Linked DNA regions of Homo sapiens: region 1 is linked to region 2. The links are contacts of gene promoters, found by promoter capture Hi-C in blood cells and fetal thymus (Javierre and others, 2016). All regions are on one chromosome and are shown on one strand. Each heading gives the region's core, a stretch centred on a gene start or on the middle of the fragment in contact. The rest is flanking DNA. Distances are from core to core; before and after follow the strand shown. Region 1 overlaps MGMT (O-6-methylguanine-DNA methyltransferase). Region 2 holds the start of GLRX3 (glutaredoxin 3).

Region 1 (6,303 bases), core at 2,473-4,972, 650 kb after region 2:
AGTGTCATCTCAACAAGCAGGAGGCTAGTGCTGGGTGGTTCATACCAGCTATCCAAGTAGCCCAGGACAAAAGACAGCCCTAGTTGATTGATTTTTCAAATGCAGAGTTGCACAGGGCTCTCTAGGCTGCCCGGGTAGACTGCCATACAAGGCTTTAACGTTATCACCACTATTACATTTAACTGATTAAAGTCCTGACTGCCAGAGGCATTAATGACAGTGTTGTGCGAGTTCTAGCAGGAAAGAATACACTCTTCTTCTGTCTGGTCTCATTTTTGACAACATGAAAATGCTGAAATGACAGACATCAACAGAATACATTTCTAGTGATGACACACACTTAAGCCTGCAATGATGACAAGAGAAAAATAATGTGAATCAAAGACGCCCTTTGTTTCCTCTGCCTTCCCAATCTTGGGTCCCCTCCATATAAAGTTTGAACAGTCCTTCTTCAGAGTAGAAATACAAATAAATTTTTTTATGTTTCTTAACAGAAAGTCAGTTAAGGTTTATACCAATTTCACCAAACACCTGTGATCTGGGATTCACTTGTGAATTTCTCAAACAGTACAGGGAAAGACTGAGTATGAGCTGAACGACCAAAAAGCATACAGAAAATACAATAACCGGCTGGGCGCAGTGGCTCACACCTGTAATCCCAGCACTTCTGGAGGCTGAGGCAGGTGGATCACCTGAGGTCAAGAGTTCGAGAATAGCCTGGCCAACGTGGCAAAACCCCATCTCTACTAAAAATGCAAAAAATTAGCCAGGCGTGGTGATGGGCACCTGTAATCCCAGCTACTTGGGAGGCTAAGGCAGGAGAATTGCTTAAACCCAGGAGACAGAGGTCGCAGCGAGCCAAGATCATGCCATCGCACTCCAGCCTGAGCAACAGAGCAAGACTCTGTCTACCCCCCACCAAAAAAAAAAAAAAAAAAAGAGAAGAGAAGAGAACAGAGAAGAACAGAACCACACCTTGACTTGGTTAGCTGTGCCTAAATTTAGAAGGTAAATTAGTTTTCTTCAACTCTGTTTCCATGAGAAAAAAAAATTAAAAAGGCTATCTATCTATATCAAGTCTAATAAGGTAGATGAACTTAAATTAAGTCTTCTTGAAAATTATTGTCCTTTGAATTCTTATTCTGTGAGGGCCAGAATAAGCAGGCTTAAACATGCCTAGAAAGCAGTCAGTGAAGCTTTCTTTTCACCCACTTCAGGCTGGTAAAAAGTCTGGGGTCAGGGCCAGAGGGCTTTGTGTAATCTGAGCAATCTCAGTCTGGTAACAGCCCAGCAGGCCTCTCTTTTATTTTTATGAGTCCACTAATAACTTGGTGGGGATCCCACTTCTAGCCATGACAGAGCAGCAAGAACCACATGTAACAGCTAAAACGAAATAAAGTCCAGGATGAGTAGCCTGAAATTCTGGGAACCAGAAGTGCTTCAGGTTTTAGATTTTTCTGGATTTGGGAATATTTGCAAATACTTACAGTTGGAGCATCCCTAATCCAAAAATCCAAAATGCTCCAATAAGCATTTCCTTTGAGCATCAGCTTTGAGCAGCATGTCAATGTTCAAAAATTTTCAGATGCTGTAGCATTTCAGATTTTGAATTAGGGGTGCTCAACTTTTATATAAAACAATGGTCTTCAGAACAAGGACAACAGCAGCCAGGGGCTATGCTCCCCAAGGAAAGGGAAGTGAAGTGAGCCAGCCGCCAGAGAACGGCTGGATGCAGCCTCCAGGCTGTGCCAAGGAGGAGGAGGGTCATCTGGCACAAAACCAGTGGGTGCTCTCACCAAAGTGGGGAGAGAGATTAGAATTCAAAAAGAACAAAACACCTAGAATCATCAGGATGGAGTACCAGGGAAGAAGGGCCTACTCAGAGAACACGCCAGGCATCTCCAGAAGAGTCCCTGTGGCCTCTGCCTAACTACTGAGACACTGCTTGAGAAGGAACTCCCTGAGGTCAAAGAAAGATGCCCAGAAGTAGCAGCCCAAATAATTCCTGATCACAGACAGAGCTGGGAATATTTCATGTTCTCACCAGCCAGTGTGGAAAGATCTCCTAATACAACATTCATCAGGTAAAGACCTCAGAGCTGCCTTATTTTTCATATATATACATATATATGTAATACATATATATTTAATACACACATATATAAAATACACACATACATATATATAATACACACACACATACATATATACACATACACACACCCTTATAAAGTAAAGACATTATGTAAATAGTAGGACTAAACTATCCCTGGACTAAAACCTGGTCTGGACCTGCCCTAACAAAACCTTTTTTTAAAAAAAGCATGATACCTTGAAAGGATACAAACAATTTCAAGAAACTGAACCTGCAGCAGAACAAAGTCCAAAACTGTTTTTTAAAAGACAACATAATCTAGCACTCCACAACAAAACTCTCAATGTCTAGGATCCCATTTAAAACACACACACATGAGAAGCAGAGGGATATAACCCACAATCAGGAGAAAAATCATTCAACAGAACCAAACCCAGAAAAGTAGAGATGCGTAAAACAAGGGGACTGGGACATAAAAACAGTTCTTATAAACATGCTCCATATTTGAGAAGATAGAGGAGAACCCACATATGACATGAGAAATAGAAGATATTTTAAAAGGCCCATATGGAGCATATAGAGATGTAAAATGCAGTCTCTAAAGTAAAAAATACAATCGATAGGATGTACAGATTAGATGCAGCAGAAGGAAAAAATAGCAACAATGAGAAAATAACGTTTTTTAAACTATCAAGGCACAGAAACACAAAAAGACTGAGGAAATGAGCAGGGCTCAGGGAGACACAGGACAGTATGAAGCAGCACATGCGCAATTGGAGCCTCAGAAAAAGGGGAGGCAGGAAAAATATCTGAAGAAATATTCAGTGACATTTCCTCAAATCTGATGAAAAATCTATATGAGGTAAAACAAGGTTGAGCACACCTAATCCAAAATGCTCCAAAACCCAAAAACTGCACCAACACAATGCCACAATTGGAAAATTCCACACCTGACCTTGTATGACAGGTCTCAGTTGAAATACAGTCAAAATTTTGTAACATGCACAAAATTATTTAAAATAATACATAAGATTTCCTGCAGGCTATGTGGATAAGGTATATGTGAAACAAAAATTCCATGTTTAAACTTGGGTCACATCCCCAAGGTATCTATATCTATATCTATCTATCTATATATCTATTTATCTACCTATCTATCTATGCAAATATTCCAAAATCCAAAAAAAATCCAAAATCAGAAACACTTCTAGTCCCAACCATTTCAGATAAGGGATATGTAACCCATTCTCACAGATGCAAGAAGCTCAGTGAAACCCAAGCAGAAGAAACATAAAAACAAATAATCAAACAGCTGAAAACAAGTGACAAAGAGAAAACCTTAGTGGCCAGAGGTGGCAAAAATGCCAGATTACATACAGAAGAACAAATTTAAGAATGACGGCAAACTGATCATCAGAAACTATGCAAGGCAGAACACAATGGAACAACATCTTTAAAGTATTAAAAAGCAAAAAAACAGGTCAACCTAGAATTCACATTTTTTCAAGAATGCAGGTGAGACAAAGGCTTTTTTCAAAAAACAAAAACAAATGCATGACAATTCAGACACCAGCAGACCTGCACTTGAGAAATGATGGTACAAGGTTTTCAGGTGTAAAAAAAATGGTACTCAATGGAAACTAGGATCTACACAAAGGAATGAGGATTTCAAAAAACAGTAAATATGCAAATAAATGTAAATTCTGGATTTTTTAAATCTCTTTAAAAGAAAACTGATTGCCCAACATAAAAATAGTAACTCTATATATTGGAGAATATTACATATGTAGCAATAATATAACAAAAAATGGGATGAGAGAAATTGAAGCATACTTTTGTTAAGGTGCTTATTCTGCATGTGAAGTTGTATTATATCACATGAATGCAGATTATGATAAGCATAAGCTAAGTATGTACATTACACATCCTAAAGCAGCCACTAAAAAAGAAGAGAGATAGCTAACAAGCCAACAGTGTAGACAGAATGTTAAATTGGAATCATTCAAAAACATATCCAAATAACTGAAAAGAAGCTACGGAAGATGGAGGAAGGGCAAAAAGAACAAATTGGTGAATGACAAATGAACAGCCAGATGGTATACTTAAACCCAACCATATTAATAATTACATTAAATGTAAATGGTCTAAATACTCCAATTTTACAAAGACATTGTCAGATTAGATTTTTTAAAGCAAGAGACCCAACTGTGTTTTCTACAAGAAACACACATTAAATGTAATGACAAGAACAGGTTCAACATAAAAGAATGGAAAAACAGTTACCACAGAAACACTAATCAAAAGAAAGCTGGAGTGGCTATCCTAATATCAAATAATTTCAAAAAAGGAATATGACAACAAAACTAGAGAAGGCCATTTCATAAGAGTAAAGGTTAATTCCCCATGAGGATGTTAAAATTCTAAACATGTATGCACCTAATGAAATCACTTAGAACAGATGAACCAAGAACCAACAGAACTGAAAGGGGTAATAAGTCTCCAATCATAGCTGGAGATGTCAATACTCCTAATAATTTTTAGAATAGGGAAACAAAATTCAATAAGGATATAGAAGGCTTGAAGAGCATTATCAACAAACCTTACCCAACTACATTTAAAGAGCACTCCACCCAAGAACCACAGAGTATACACTTTTCAAACATCCACCAAGGTAGACCATATTCTGGGCTGTAAAACAACTCTCAACAAATCTAGGAGGATTAAAATCATAACAGGTATGTCCTCTGATTACAAGGTAACTCACCCCTGCAGATCAATAACAGAAAAATACTGGGAAAGTACCCAAATATTTTTTAAATCCCCAAATTCTTGGAAATTAAATGATGTACTAATAAATAACCCAAGCATTAAAGAAGAAACCACAAGGAAAATTGGGAAATACGCCACTCTGAATCAAAATGAAAACACAGCATGTCTATCTGTGAGCACACCTAAAGCAGTGCTTAGAGAGAATTTTTAGCATTAAATGTTTATATGAGAAAAGAAGAAAGGAAAACCAAATGATCTAAGCCTCTACCCTAAGAAACTACAAAAAAGAAAGCAAACTAAACTGAAAGTAAGCACAAGAAAGCAATAATAAACAGGAGAAATCAGTAAGAGAGAAAAATCAAGTAACGAAAGTTGGCTCTCTGAAAAGAAACAGATAAACCTCTAGCCAGACCAGTTAGCAAAAAAGGGGACAAAGTGCAAATTACCAATATCAGGAATAAAAATAAGGACATGACTCAAAATCCCACAGACATTAAAAGGATAATAAAGGAATATAAAAATAACTTTAGGCCAATAAATTCAACAAACTTAGATGAAATGGTCAAATTCCTTGACAAATACAAAATCCCAAAAAGTCACTCAAGAAGAAATAAATGACCTGAATGGCCCTATAGCTACTAAAAAAAACTGAATTCATAGTTAATGTTATTTTCACAAAGAAAACTTCAAACACAAATGGCTTCACTGGTAAATCTTATGAAGCATTTAAAGAAGAGACAATGCTAACGGTACACAAACTAATCCAAAATATAGAAGAGGCCTCATTTTATGAGTGCAAGATTGCCCTCCTAACAAAGCAGACAGACACTCCAGGAATGCTGCTGACCAACACCTCTCATGAACAGACACACAATCCTCAAACATATCCACACGTCAAATCCAGCAATCTATGAAAACAGTAATTCACCAAGTCCAGGTGGGCATTTATCCAGGAACACAAAATTGGTTGAAGACATGGAAACCAATGAGAGTTATCCACCATATTCACTGCAGAAAAGAGTAAAACATCCCCCATCTGCTAAAGGGCACCTGCACAAACTATGGCTGACCACACACCGCACGGTGAAAGACAACACAGAAGCCATGCTGGGGAAAACCGTGGATGCCTCCGCAAGGGCCAAGATATTGACACCAAACTCTAGGAGGAAGGCACGGTCAGGGCAACAGGCAGGTTCACTTCAGAATGCCCTGAGGAAGCAATCAAACTTCACTAAATCTTGACCTTCTAAACATTCTGTGACCTAACGGGAAGCGCAGCAAAGCACTTCTGCCACAAACCAGAATGACGCTGCCACCAGGAGGGCTCCGCAAATGGCAGAGACTGCTGATGAACTTACCAACTTCATTTTAGAACAAAAGCTTTGCTAGTGTGAATGACTCACAAACAACAGTTATTCAGACTTGCATATCTGGCGGAT
Region 2 (6,401 bases), core at 804-3,303:
CTGCACTCTCCATTGCAAAATCAGAGTACTACTTGCCTCTAATTCAAATTCAGTCGGCAAAATTTCACTCAATTTAGATCAACAGGGCAGGTCACGGGGGCTCAAGCCTGTAATCCCGATACTTTACAAGGCCGAGGCAGGCGAATCACTTGAGCTCAGGAGTTCCAGAGACCAGCCTGGGCAACATGAGGAAACCCTGCCTCTACGAAAAATACACAAATTAGCCCAGCGTGGTGGACCGCACGTGTAGTCCCAGATACTCAGGAGGCTGAGGTGGGAGGATCGCTTGAACCCAGGAGGTAGAGGCTGCAGTGAGCCGAGATCACGCCACTGCACTCAGCCTGGGCAACAGAGCAACAGCCTGTCTCGAAAACAAACAAAACAAAATTTAGATCAATAAGCATTTCTGGCCGGACGTGGTAGCTCACACCTGTAATCCCAACCCTTTGGGAGGCTGAGGAGGGCAGATCGCTCGAGTCCAGAAGGTCGAGACGAGGCTGGGCAACATGGCGAGACCTCGTCTCTATAAAAAAAAATAAAAATTAGACGGGCGTGGTGGTGAGCACCTGTGGTCCCAGCTACTCGGGAGGATGAGGTGGGTCGATCACTTGAGCCTGGGAGGCGGAGGCTGCAGGGAGCCGTGATCGCTCCACTACACTGCAGCCTGGGTGACAGAGCCAGACCCTGTCTCAAAAACAAAACAAAACAAAGCTTTTTGCCTGTGAATTCCATGAACCATTCTACTTCCTACTGAAATACTAAGTGCCAACATCTACTGAGTGCTTCCTGCATACTAGGCATTGTATTATTTGTATTTTACATACGTCATCTCATTTAACCCTCACAACAACCCTGAGGTACTAACAGGTGCTAATCTATGTCACCGTCGGGAAACTGAGGCTTGGGCATGAAACGTGCCCAGGGGTTACATGGCTACTGAGTGGCTGCGGTGGGACTGGATCCCAGGCAATCCGACATAAGAGTTCCCATAACAACCGCTAATAATACAACTAAGAGAACAACTCAGTCCTTGGAGTAGTCTACAATGTGAGGTGGTATTATCACGGAGAGTCCACGTGCAGACCTTTCCCTGCAGGCACGCACGCTAGTAAGCATTTACTCGTAAGCATGCTTGCAGTTCAGAGCTTCTAGTCCACCCAGAAAACGCTTTCTATGCATTCCTCTGGATCTCCTTTTGTAGTCTTCCCAGGGATTGAAGACCTGGACACCGGCGCCAAATCTGAACAGACTCTCACTACACCAGTTCATGGAACAGGAAATCTCTGTCTCCGGCAACAGGTTAAGTCTGAAGACTGAGGCTACCTGCTGTCCAACAAACTTTAAAGGCTGACTTCAAAAGGCAGCCAGGCCTAGCTAATGCAACGGGGCCTTCCCTCGCCGCTCTTCCTGCGACAGGGGCGTTCCTGAAGGGAGGCTGAAGAGCAATGGGCCGACGCCGAGCCTGCCGCTCCCTCCCGGCGGGCACAGGAAAGGTGGAGCCCGCAGCCGTGGGTCCCGCTCCGTGGCGCGGAGGGCCGGGGTCTCGGCGCCGCCCCGTCCCCCGCCCCGCCACTGCGGCACGGCTGAGTCACCACCGCCTCCGTCCCGCGGCGGGGCCGCCCAGGCCAGAGGCCGGGAAGGTCGCGTCCCCCGGGCTTGGACAGCCGTCGGGGTCGGAGCCAGGGCTGGGGCCGGGGCTTCCAGGCGAGCCTCGCGCCCTGCTCGCTGTTCCGGGGCGGGGAACCTGCGGCTCGGGCCACTCACGCGGAGGCTCGGGGGAGTCTACGGGTGGCGCCGGGCCCGGTCCCCCGAGGCCGAAGGGAGCCGGGCACCAAGAAGCCAGGCTGGGCCACCCGCCGCCCCACACCGGCCCGGTCTCGCGGCCGCTCCCGCTCCGGCTCCTCACTCCTACCGCTCGCCGCCCCGCTTACTTGGCTTTGAGGCGCAGCAGCTCCTCAAACTGCCCGGCTGAGCCGACCTCCTCCACGGCCGCTACAGCTGCCTCAGCCGCCCCCGCCGCCATGCTGCCGCCGCCAGACAGAAGCAATCCAGTGCCGGCGGCCGGATGTGGGCGGGGCCACGGGGAGCTGAGCGGCTGCGCGAGGGAAAGCCCCGCCCCTGCCTGCGCTGAGGCTGCCGAGCCTGAGAAATCCCAAAAGGGGCCTCGGCGGCGGGCTCTGGATCCCGCTGGGGGGCTCTGACCCTGCCAAGTCTGGGCACTCCGCTGCGGGCCTCCTGGCTCCCGGGGTTCATGGCTGTTATGGTTCCTGGCTGTCGGGGCTCCTGGCTTTCGGGGCTCCCTGGCTGAAGGGGCTCCTGGCTGTAGGGGCTCCTGGCTATGGAGGTTCCCGGTTATAAGGGCTTCTGGATGTAGTGGATTCTGGCCGTCGAGGTCCCTGGCTGTCGGGGCTCCTGGCCGTAATGGCCCCTGGCTGTCGGGACCCCTGGGTGTCGGGGTTCCTGGCTGTCGGGACCCCTGGGTGTCGGGGTTCCTGACTGTAGGGGCTCCTGGGTGTTAGGGTTCCTGGCTATAGCAGGGGCTCCTGGGTGTCGGGGTTCCTTGCTGTCAGGGCTCCTGGTGGTAGAGGCTTCTTGCTGTTGGCTTCCTGGCTGTCGGGGTGACTGGGTGTCAGGGCTCCTGGTGTTAGGGTTCCTGGCTTCCTGGCTGTAGTAGGGGCTCCTGGGTGTCGGGGTTCCTTGCTGTCAGGGCTCCTGGTGGTAGAGGCTTCTGGCTGTTGGGGTTCCTGGGTGCCAGGGCTCCTGGGTGTCAGGGTTCCTGGCTGTCAGGACACCTGACTCCTGAGGCTCCTGGCTTTTGGGGCTCCAGACCTTCCTTGCACTTCCTGTGTCTCCTGGGTCTGTAATAGAAGGGGCCGGTGGAGGGGTGGGGGTGAGACATGTGAGTGAAAGTGAAGTCAGATGTGTACATTTAGGAAGCTGAAATTATCAAAAATGAAATTGCATAAAGGTGAGGAAGAACTGGGAGGTCTGGGAACAGAAGTGGTAGATCTTGAACTTCAACACAGACAGGGTGCTTCCAATTCAGTCCTGGGACCTGAACCCGGAGCCCACAGCATGTCCCTCCTCCCCTGGCCCTCCGCGCGTGCCGCCACTCATTGCAGCCCCACAGAGCCATCACCCATTGTAACCTCAGAACAGAAGGGGCTGGGTGGGTCCACAGATCCCTGCACTCCTCCCGTCTTGCCTCCTTGGATGATCCCTGGCTTGTCTTTCTCCCTTGGGAATCCCCCTGATGTTGGCTCTCCATGTGGTGTACTCTGTACCCCACACCCCATGCTTCCCACACACCTTCTGGCCTGAGTAATCTCCATGCCCCCAGTGACATCAACCTCCAGGGAAACCTCAATAGCAAGCCCAGAACCCTCCCCTGCATCCCAGAGCCTAGCATCCACTAACTTTGAGGAGGGGCCATCTTTTATTGGATATCCCCAAACCACACTGGGCCTTCCCTCCAAAGTGCCTCTCCTCTTGGTTCCCATCTCAGGGAACACCATCGCTCCCACCCAGACACTTGGGGCTCCTTCTGACTGGTCCCCCTGCTGTCCCTGGGCTTTGAGGCCAAGCCCCCACAGAGCCTTCCCTACTAGCCAGGTGTTCCCAGGCCTCCTTTGCTTGCTTCTACCGTGGCCTGTCTCATGTTGTAGAACTGTGCTTGTCCTCCATTGGCCTGTGTTCTTAAAGGGCAGGAGCTGATCTGTGTCTCAGTGCCTGGATCAGAGTCAGACACATAGGAGGTACTCAGTCCATGCTAACAGCTGCCAGAGGACTGGGCTCACTGGATTGCAAAGACTTCGTACGAGAAAAGTAGCATATCATTCATACTTTTTATATTGATTACATGTTGAAATGAGGATATTTGGATATATTCGGTTTTCTGAAATATATTATTTAAATTGGTCTCTTTTACCTTTGGCTCCTGAGAAATGTCTAATTTCATAGGCAACTTTCATTCGTGGCCCTTGAATTTTCTTGGGCAGCACTACTGTGGTGTTTAAAAGCCTTTTGGAGCCTGTCACATGTATACCTCACCTGGAGAAATACATGGTATTGAACACGGTAAATTGTGTTATTTAAAATGCAACAGGAGAGTGATGAGGAACCATTTTGTATCTTGCCTGTGGTGGTGAGAACACAAACTAAACATGATAAAATTGTATAGAACTTGGCTGGGTGCTCTGACTCACACCTGTAATCCCAACAATTTGGAAACCCCAGACAGGAGGATCACTTGAGCCGAGGAGTTGGAGACCAGCCGGGCAACATAGGAAGACCCGGTCTCTACAAAAATATATATATATATATGAGTCAGGCATGGTGGCTCACACTTGTGGGCCCAGGTAGGTGAGAGGCTGAGGTGAGAAGATCACTTGAGCCTGGGAGTTGGAGGCTGCAGTGAGCCATGATCCTGCCACTGCTACTGCCCACTAACCTGGGCGACAGAGCAAGACCCTGTCTCAAAAACAAAAACAACGCACACACACACACACACGCATGCACGCGCGCACGAGTACAAGTAAAACTGGGAAAATCTGAAAAAGATCAGTCGATTGTTTATAAATATCAACATCCTGGTTGCAGTATTACAGTTTTGCAAGGTGTTGTCATCGGAAGAAAGTGTACACAGGATCTGTATTATTTCTCACAACTGCATGTGAATCTACAGTTGTTTTAAACTAAAAAGTTTAGTTAAAAACCATGTAAATAAGACTTTAAAGTTTACTATGAAAAGAATGCAATAGGAGGGAAAAAAGACACCATGTCAAAAAAAAAGAAAAAGATACCATGTCATAAAACAAGATACACATTCTGGTTATCACTTTTTTTCTTTTCTTTTCTTTGAGATGGAGTTTTGCTCCTGTTGGCCAGGCTGGAGTGCAATGGCGTGATGTCGGCTCACCGCAACCTCCACCTCCCGGGTTCAAGCGATTCTCCTGCCTCAGCCTCCCAAGTAGCTGGGATTACAGGTGTGTGCCACCACGCCCGCCTAATTTTGTATTTTTAGTAGAGACGGAGTTTCTCCATGTTGGTCAGGCTGGTCTCGAACTCCTGACCTCAGGTGATCCGCCCGCCTCGGCTTCCCAAAGTGCTGGGATTGCAGGTGTGAGCCACTGTGCCCGGCCTGTGATTATCATTTTTAAGTAGAATTGAATGTAAATAAAACATATAACTATATCAGTGAATGGCTCATAGAAAAGGGTCTCCAGAAGGATGCTCCCCAAATTATTATCAGAGCTTGCCTCCAGAGGGCAGAAACAGAGGAGAGCTAAAGGGAGGCCCTTCACTTTGACTTACACACTTCTTTGTGTCATTTGCTTGTTTTCTAATAGCATAGACTGCTTTTGACATTTAAAAAATAATGAAATTGTATTGCACAGGGGAAATGTGCTATAGTGAATCCTTTTCAAAAAAAAAAGCAGTAATCACCCCTCAAATGTGGCTGTTTTATAAATGCTGATTTTTCTTTTATTTTTTATTTTTTGAGACGGAGTCTTGCCCTGTCACCCAGACTGGAGTGCAGTAGCGCGATCTGAGCTCACTGCAAGCTCCGCCTCCCGGGTTCATGCCATTCTCCTACCTCAGCCTCCCGAGTAGCTAGGAATAGAGGCGCCTGCCACCACGCCCGGCTAATTTTTTGTATTTTTAGTAGAGATGGGGTTTCACCGTGTTAGCCAGGATGGTCTCGATCTCCCGACCTCGTGATCCGCCCACCTCGGCCTCCCAAAGTGCTGGGATTACAGGCGTGAGCCACCGCCCCCGGCCCGCTGATTTTTCTTTTAAATGGAATTTGCTGAAAGTGGCACAAACCAGTTGCAGAGCAGACTCTAAAAAAAATGCTATGAAAACTCCTGGATAACACTTCCATTTCTGCCCTTTTTGTAGTTTATTATTGTAGGGGCCACAGGAAAGCTTCTCCTTAGCCCTCTGATGGTTTGCTGAAAATCACTGACAAAAGGCAGATTAATAGGAGAAAAGATAAACAAATTTATTTGATCACAGTTTCACGTGACACGTGAAGACTCAAAGATACAGGGAAAACTGTCCATTTGTATGCTTAGGTTCAACGAAGTATGGACAGTTATGTAGAAATACGATTGGACAAAATGGGTATGCTCTTATGCTAGCAGAACTCACTGGGGGCTTTGCAGATGCTGACGCCCCCCAGAACCCCCTGCTACCAGCCATGGTCAATCCCACCATGTTCTTCAACATGGCCGTCAATGGCAAGCCCTGGGGCCATCAAACAGCCCTTCGAGCTGTTTGCAGACAAGATTCCAAAGACAGCAGAACACTTGCATGCTCTGAGCACTGGAGGGAAAGGATTTTGTCATGAGGGTTCCTGCTTTCACAGAATTATTCCAGGGCTTATGTGTTAGGGTGGT

Evidence for each region. The method cuts DNA at HindIII sites, captures the fragments that hold promoters and counts their contacts. A CHiCAGO score of 5 or more calls a contact.
Region 1: a fragment that was not itself captured here is called in contact with the fragment with the promoter of GLRX3 in region 2 in 1 of 17 cell types (total CD4 T cells); the score reaches 5.0 in total CD4 T cells.

What each region holds. Positions count from the first base shown.
Region 1 is chr10:129,480,814-129,487,116 of GRCh38, reverse strand. All of the region lies in intron 1 of MGMT (O-6-methylguanine-DNA methyltransferase), which reads right to left. Among named protein-coding and RNA genes, the nearest start is that of MGMT, 17 kb to the right of the region's middle. The HindIII fragment of the contact is 5,048 bases long and covers 1,199-6,246 here.
Region 2 is chr10:130,132,043-130,138,443 of GRCh38, reverse strand. It overlaps GLRX3 (glutaredoxin 3), which reads right to left and starts at 2,053. Exons shown (of 11, transcript NM_006541.5): 1 at 1,932-2,053. The coding sequence starts at 2,023. It overlaps LOC105378561 (a long non-coding RNA gene), which reads left to right and starts at 2,073. Exons shown (of 6, transcript XR_001747659.2): 1 at 2,073-4,985. It also overlaps the pseudogene PPIAP32. RefSeq lists enhancers at 1-307, 308-943, 1,222-1,271 and a silencer at 1,472-2,071. The HindIII fragment of the contact is 5,217 bases long and covers 714-5,930 here.